2 separate regions of the Homo sapiens genome follow, and region 2 is linked to region 1. Evidence: promoter capture Hi-C in 16 types of primary human blood cells and fetal thymus (Javierre and others, 2016). All regions are on one chromosome and are shown on one strand. The core of a region is centred on a gene start or on the middle of the fragment in contact, and the rest is flanking DNA. Distances in the headings are between cores, read along the strand shown. Region 1 holds the start of ZNF696 (zinc finger protein 696). Region 2 overlaps ZC3H3 (zinc finger CCCH-type containing 3).

What was found. Contacts are between HindIII fragments. The CHiCAGO score rates a contact against its expected background, and 5 or more counts as called.
Region 2: a fragment that was not itself captured here is called in contact with the fragment with the promoter of ZNF696 in region 1 in 1 of 17 cell types (M1 macrophages); the score reaches 5.6 in M1 macrophages.

The regions. Positions count from the first base shown.
Region 1 is chr8:143,289,359-143,293,311 of GRCh38, forward strand. It overlaps ZNF696 (zinc finger protein 696), which reads left to right and starts at 2,059. Exons shown (of 3, transcript NM_030895.3): 1 at 2,059-2,409; 2 at 3,614-3,707. The coding sequence starts at 3,644. RefSeq lists an enhancer at 1,548-2,123 and a silencer at 1,594-2,313. The HindIII fragment of the contact is 14,284 bases long and covers 1-3,953 here.
Region 2 is chr8:143,482,999-143,486,951 of GRCh38, forward strand. The region is part of intron 4 of ZC3H3 (zinc finger CCCH-type containing 3); the gene reads right to left. Among named protein-coding and RNA genes, the nearest start is that of SNORD149, 21 kb to the right of the region's middle. The HindIII fragment of the contact is 1,138 bases long and covers 1,453-2,590 here.

The DNA.
Region 1 (3,953 bases), core at 809-3,308:
GGCTGTGACGCAGTCCAGGATCTTCGCCAAGGCACCTGCTGGAGGCCCCTCCTGGGTCCCACGACCCCGACTGCGCCTGCCGGCTGCCAGCGAGGAGGCGGGGCCAAGGCGAGGGCGGGGCCGAGGCAGGAGGGGCGGGGTCGGCCTGATGGGCGGGGCTTCCGTGTGGGCGGGGCTGCTGGCCCTGCGGTCTGAGCCAGCGGGGAGAGGCCCGGGCGGAGGAGGCTGCGGACTCCTAGAGGTTCAGTGCCGGAAGTTGGGCCTGGAAAGGGGGCACCGCCTTCCCGGTTCTGGTGGCGGGGAGTGAGGGGACGGGCGAAAGCGGCACAGGGAACAGCATGACACGGGCCTGAGGCAGGGCACATTTGGAAAGGGGCGAGGAGAGGGCAGTGGCTTCTGGCACGGCAGCAGTGGGCATACAGAGGCAGTCGGGACCCGTCTGGAAGAGCCTCCGCCCGGGGTAAGGAGCCGGGACTGTGTCTAGGAGGCAGTGGGGAGCTCCGGAGAGCGAAGCGCCTCCTGCGCAGACTCGCGTGCTTGGAGTACCGGAGCCTGCAGGGCAAGAGAGGGTCTTCAGAAGACCCACGACGTTCCACTGGGATGCAGAGGGAAACGGTTACTTGTACTTCTACATCATCTCTTTTAGATGTGTGTGTGTGTGGTGTGTGTTGTTGTTGTTGTTTTTGTTTTGCGACAGAATCTCTGTCACCCAGGCTGGAGTGCAGTGCCAATCTCGGCTCACTGCAGCCTCCGCCTCCCGAGCTCAAGTGGTCCCCCCGCCTCAGCCTCCCGAGTAGCTGGTACCACAGGCGCCGGCCACCACGCCCGGCTAATTTTTAAAAAAAATTTTTAGTCGACACGGTTCTAACTATGTTGCTCAGGCTGGTCTGAAACTCCTGGACTCAAACAATCCTCCTGCCTTGGCCTCCCAAAGTGCTGGGATTACATTCATGAGCCTCTCGCCCACCCAGTCTAAGTGTTTTAATTTTTATCTTTTACAACAGCTTCTAATTTGTTACAAATAAACGTGCAGCATGTGGTGGGAGTGTTCAGGTGTTTACTGGTGCAGTGCGCAATGAACGCGGTTCCAGGCACGAGATGTGGAGGCCCAGAGGCAGATGCCGGGTGGCGGCGGCGCGGGACTGTCGGAGGCGCGGGCAGGGACCTGGGCTCCCAAGGCTGTGGCCCTCCCGCCCCAGTCCAGGGTCCAGTTCCAGGGGCGCGTCTGGCCCTCTGTTGCTGTCTTCTTAGGGTTCTCTCATGGGAATCGGTTCTTCAGCCTTTCTTTTCTCCCCAGAGAGGGTCTGTCTACTCGTTGTAAGAGGGAACAAGTCCACATTGCAGCTGTACACTTTGCACCCATGATGAAAAGCGTCACTTTTGCAGCATTCCAGCTGGAGATGCGTGACCTTCGGTCTGCGGCAGGCGGAAGGGCGAGAGACTTGGACAGGAGGTGCATCTTGCCCGGGGAAGGCTGAACGAATGAGAGCTCGGTCCCTGGTGAGAAAGAGCCCAGAGCCCGCGAGAGGCGGGCAGCAAGGGCTTCTCTGCAGCGGAGACGCGAGGGCGGCGTCCTGCAGGGAGGCGGGGGGCAGCGCCTGGGGCGCTCCAAGCTCTCGGCCCCAAGGAAGCCCACGCTCGGGACCCGCGTGCTGCCACAGCCCCGGGGGCCTGGAGGGTCCCGTGAGCCGAGCGGGACCCGGGACAAGCGCGGGACGCCGCGGGGAACGGACGGGAACGCGCGTGGCCGCCCCACAGCGGGCCTTCGACACCTCCTGACACGTCCTGCGGGTGCCCGGTCCTCAGTTGGCTCGAGCCGGATCCCGGCGCGCCAACGGCTCGACCTTGCCCCCCACGAGGCAGGGCTTCCTGCCCGGCAGGAAGGACTCGGCCGGCGCCTGCGGGCAACCGATGAGCTGAAGGCGCCGCGGCTGGGCCGTCCCGCTCTCCCGCCGCCGAGCGCGCTGTCCTCCCGCTGCCCAGAGCGTCGCCGGAAGTGCCGAGGGGGCGGGCCAGGGGTGGAGACTGGCGTTTCCGGCGCGCGACGGGGCGGGGACCGTAGCGGGTGCAGTCCAGCTGCTCTGGACGCTGAGGCCCCGGCTTCTCTTGCTGGGGTGTCGATTCGGGAGGGCTGAGGGCGCGGCCGAGAGAACGGGGCGGTCACCGCCGCCGTGGCCCGCGCGTCCCGCGCTCTCCTTGCAGTGCAGGCCCCAGCCGCTCTCGGGCGCGGCGTGGGGGAGGCGGCCCTGCAGGTGCGTACCCGGGGTCCGACACGTGCGGGGCTTCCTGCGAGCTGAGTCCCCGCTGCGCGTCTTCAGGCCTTTGTAAGTTGTCAAATTTCCCACCGGCCCAGCTCATCGAGCTTCTTCCCAGCTGTGAACAGGAGGGCCTGTTCCCTAATTCTTGCCGGTAAGGTACTTGCAAAAATCTGCTTCCAGACTAAAAAATTGCACTTTAAATTACCTTTTTGTAAAAGCGGCGGGGTCTCGCTATGTTTCCCAGGCTGGCCTCCTACTCCTGGGCTCAAGCGATCCTCCCGCTCAGCCTCCCTGGCAGGCGGGATTACAGGCGGCTTAAATTAAATTTACTAATTAATCACTTTATTTACTTATTTTTTTAAGACAGGGTCTCACTCCAACGCCCAGCTGGAGTGCAGTGGCGAAATCTCGGTTCACCCCAGCCTAGACCTCCTGGGCTCAGGCAGTCCTCCCACCTCAGCCTCCCTAGTAGCTGGGACTACAGACGCCCACCATCACACCTGGCTAATTTTTTGATTTTTTGTAGAGACGGGGTCTCACTATGTTGCCCAGGCTGGTCAGGAACTCTTGTAATCAGTCAGTCCTCCATCCTGAGCCTTTTGAAGTGCTAGGATTACAACTGTGAGCCACAGCACCCAGCCAAATTACATTTCTTAATTGCACTTGAGGTGAGACCTAAAAAAATGTATTGCCTACTGGTTTTTCTTCTTTGTGAGTTACCTATTCATGATCTTTGCCAATTTTCCTTCCTTTCTCATTAATATATAGAGGTCTTTATCAGATAGGGATGAATCTTTGCATTGCACGTATTCCTCCCTTTTTGGTTTTTTTTTTTTACATTAAATTTTTTTATGTAGTTGAATTTGTCAGACATCTGATGTCAGGCTTAGAAAAATCATTCCTCATTCCAAAACTTTACCATTCAAATAAGTTGTTCTTTTCTTCTGGTTTAACATTTTTATATTCAAATCCTTATAACTACCAAGAAAATTTTAAAACCCATGGGAATTTCTCTAGACATTTGAAGACTGCTGGAGGGCGCGGGCTTCCTCAGCATGGAGCTAGGAAGCTGTGGCCACGCCCACCTGTGCTCTGCGTCAGCCCTGGGTGGAGGGGGACCCGCAGAGCCTGGACCAGAGTTCCTGGGCATCCCACAGAACAGAACACCCGCTTCTGGGAGTGTCTGTTGAGCCAGGACCTTGATTGCTAGTGACAGGAGTGGGCCCAGCTGGGTGATGCAGCTCCCACAGGGCCTGTTCTGACAGTTTCCTCTGAAGGCATTCTGACCTCACTGCCCCTGGCCCCTGTACCTAGCCCTGGCTGTGATTTATTTTCCTTTTCTTTTACCTAAGCAGAAATTGTTCCAACTGCTGGTGTTCTGCAAGATGGAGCCAGGAGGAGAGCCCACAGGTGCTAAAGAGAGCAGTACCCTGATGGAGTCCCTTGCAGGTGAGGGGACATGTCCACAGTCGGGCCCAGAGTTCCAGGGCAGGAATTGAACAGGAATACAGGAAAAACACCATGTCTCAGTCACTGACGCAGAGCATATACTGTGTCCTTGGGCGCAGGGTGAGGGAGGGAGGTAAACGCAGGCCCATCAGATCTCCTGGGCATCTGTTTGGTGACTGTCTTTGCCAGTGAACTGAGAGCTTTTGGTTAGAAAGTCTGGCAGCCCCAGGCTCTGCCTCTGGGAAG
Region 2 (3,953 bases), core at 772-3,271, 190 kb after region 1:
CAGGCCAGTGGCAACGTGCAGTAAACAGGCAGTCCAGCTGAGACACAGAGAAAACAACCGGAGAAGCATTTTCAGGAAATGGAGCACAATTTTTCGAAGCTTGGAGCCCGAGCGGGGAGTGCGAAGTCAGCAGAAGAGGAGCGGCCGGGGGGAGGCGGCGCCGCAGCGAATCCCCAAGTAGGTCAGGCAGAGCTGCGCCATGACAGGCACTAAACTGCTTAAGTGGGGCTTTCCACTGGAAACGCTGACACCCCCATCACCGTGCTGGCTCGGGAGGGCGAGCATGCATGTGTGTCCATGCGTGTGCGCGTGTGGGGCTGGCTGGAAGCCTCCCTCCCGGTTTCTCCTGGTGCTGAGCCACTGCGGCCCCCGAATGGGTTGGCCAGGCTACATGGGGCCCTTGGCTGGAGAGGCCCAGCCCGTGAGGCTGGGGCAATGCAGGGGAGGTGGTTCTACTGGACAGACACTCACAGAATGTCCTGAGTTCCGGAGGAGGAAGACAGAGTCCCTCATGGGAGGGGCCCAAGCTGGGCCGGCAGGGAGGGGCGCTCAGGCCAGACAGAGCAGAGGCGTGCAGTGGGGGTGCTAGGCGGGCTCCCGGCTCCTGGACCCTGCCCCCACGATCTCAGGGGCAGGGCTAAATGCTCAAGGGCCTGTGGCTGCCAGGGCTGAAATCTGACTACGTGGTGGCCACGCAGGCCTCACGATGGCTATGGCCACCTCATCTCACAGAAAGAACCCTCTTCTAACTTACTCCTCACAAGTCTGGCCCCCTATCCTCCAAACCCCTATACCCAGACCGTGGGGCCCTCACCAGCTCCAAGGGGCCTCCAGGTACCTGGGGCAGTAGCTGCTGTTCAGCAGGGGCTCCGGCACCATGGCCAGATGGGCTCTCTAGTCCCGCTGTCACCCCCACAGCATCTACCTCCCAGTATGGGGGCCTGCAGAGACCGTCCAGCCGCTTGGCTTTCCAGGATACACCTTCAGCAGGCAGGCAGGGTTACAGGCCTGGGTGGGAGCTGAGAGCCCTGCACCAGCGGCCAGGGGCGCCATGAGGGGAAAGAGCCATGCAGCCTTAGGGACAGCAGCCTTGTTTGGGGGCCCCTGAGGACAGGGACAGCCTTGAGTGCGACTGGTCCAGCTGAGGCTGAGCACGGCTGGCTCCCCCGGCCCCTGGGCTGACTCGTGGGGTGGAGGCTCTGTTGTGACATCTGAGGACTTCCTCACTGGGCACTGGTCCTTCCGAGGGCCATCCCTGCCCCGTCTCACCCCAGTAATGAATAAGAAGGATTCGGAGGCGCCTCTGCAGCCTGGCTGGGTGGCAGGGGGCAATACTAATGACACTGCCTCCGTTACAAACGTCGTGCTCCATTATGAGGGGCTGGGACTATTTTATGTATTTTATGTGCTCACATCTATTCAATTGGTATTTCGATCAATGGATGCATTACAAGCTTTCCCTTTAAGAGCCTAATAAACAACAAGATGGAAAGTAAAATTCTCCATAAAATGACACTTTTAAAAATCCATTTCAGCTGAAGCTATTGGTGTTTTGTATGTCAGCTGCAAAAAAACAAGTATTAGTGGGACTTCATGGCCCCGGAGTGCCGAGTTCAGCTCGTCCGGCAGAGGTGCCAGGCGGCCAGGTGCAGCTGTCCTTGGCGGGCCCGCGACCCTCTGCACCTGTGCCACCCTTTGGGCTGGGTCATCGGCCCAGGACCCACTCTGTCTGTGCCAGCTACTGAGGGGCAGGCTGGCCAGGAATCCTGCCTAGGCCCTCAAGGACCCCTCAGGTCACTGCTGTCTAAAGAGACTCACAGCAGACATCCCCCCACTCCCAGGCCCTGGGACAGCCCCTCCGAAGACCACACAGCAAATCCGGCTCAGCTCCCTGGAAAGGCGTGGTGACCTCAGCAAACTTCATGCGGCCCTTGCAAGGACAGTGGTATCTGCAAAAACCACGGGAAAACCACAATAAAAACCCACTCACTTCAGAGGGGTAACCAGAACTGATTATGAAGCAAAGATGTGTGAAAACCAAAGCCCTGCAAGACAGTGGCAAACACCAGTTGGAACATACAAAGAAGAGAAGCCAGAAACACTCTCAAATAACTGAGGAAAAATTCTACAGCAGGGGCGCCGGGCCAACATGTGGAAGTTATGGAGCATGAGTCCCCCTGGTGCTGAGAACAGGAGGGAGGCAGGCGGGGCCAGGGATCTGAAGTGTTTGTTGTGTGTGTGGCTGAAATCCTAAGAAGAAGAAAATGCAAATCTATGATTTGGAGGCTGGTTCCTTGGTGAGGCCGAGAACCCGGTCCAGTGTTTCTAAGGTGGTCTGGAAGAGTAAGCATTCAGGAATAACGAAGGGCACAGACAAGTGGGTCAACAGTGAGGATGGAGAGTCTGGGAACAGCCCATACATCTGCTCACCCGAGTGACGCAGGCGCCCCTGCACCTGAGTGGGTCAGGATCTCATTTCAATACATGTGTCTCCATGGGGAGACAAAAGGACTCTGGCCCCTACCTCAGACCACAGGTAAAAATTAATTCAAGAAGCCTCAGGCTTAAAATATAAAAGCTAAAATAGCCAAGCTTCTAGAAGAAAACATGAATGTGGGATAGACAAATATTTCTTAAACAGGACACAAAGAGCACTACTCATAAAAGGCTAAAAAACCAGATGCCGTGGAAGAGCAGGTCCCTCGCTGTAAGCAGACGTGTGGGGCGGAAAACATCCACAACAAAAACAAACTCCCACAAATCAGCCAAAAGGCAAATCACACAAAAACAGGCCAACACCCAAAGAGGCCCTTTACAGTAAAGAAGGGCACCACCAGGAGACCTGAGTGAAGAAAAAGATGCCCAGCAATGCCAGCCAGCGGGATGGGCGTGAGGCCCCACACCCCCCAGCATGGCAAGAACAGGAGACACGGGCCTGAGAATCCTGGCCAAGGCCACGGGCCAGCCACAATGCTCACATGCTGCTGCTGGCAGGCTGGGACAGCTACCTGGGACAGCTTCCAAAGCTCAGTGTCCATCACCCTCTGAGGCAGCAACTCCACACAAACGAGGGCTACCAGCACCCAGAGACACACCCAAGACAGCAGCTTCATAACTGGCAAGGATGGGAGAGACTCCAGATACCCACCCATCAACTGCAAGATGGACACACATGGCGTATCCATATCACAGAACACCACACGGCAGGGAAAAAGAATGAGTTCCCGCCAGGCGCGGCAATGTAGCGGAGTGAGAAACGTGGGCGCCTACGGCTGCCTGGCTGCTGCCATGGAATGCTCTGCAGTGGGCGGCTACGACAACAGAAACACACTTTCTCACAAGGCTGGGGCCGCACCGAGGCTCTGGCAAGGCTGGTTTCTGGTGAGGTCTCCCTTCCTGGCTTGTACTGTCCTCCCGTGGCTTTTCCTCTGGGCATGTGCCCCTGGTGGCACTTTTTATTCTTGTAAGGACATTAGTCCTAGTGGATCAGGGCCAAACACGTATAATCCCATTTAACCTCAATTACCTGTTTGAAGACCCCATCCCCAAACGTAGTCACATTGGGGGTTAGGGTTTCCATCTATGAACTTGGTGGGGGACACAATTCAGTCCATGAAAAGTGATGAACAAAAGAAGTCAGACACAGAATGGCACCCGCTACATGACCCCACCACCAAGAAGCTCACACACAAAACAGCACCTGCTCCACAACCCCACCACCACGAAGCTCACACACAAAACAGCACCCGCTACACGACCCCATCACCACGAAGCTCACACACAGAACAGCACCCGCTACACGACCCCATCACCACGAAGCTCAGACACAGAACAGCACCCGCTACACGGCCCCACCACCACGAAGCTCAGACACAGAACAGCACCCGCTACACGGCCCCACCACCACGAAGCTCAGACACAGAACAGCACCCGCTACACGGCCCCACCACCAC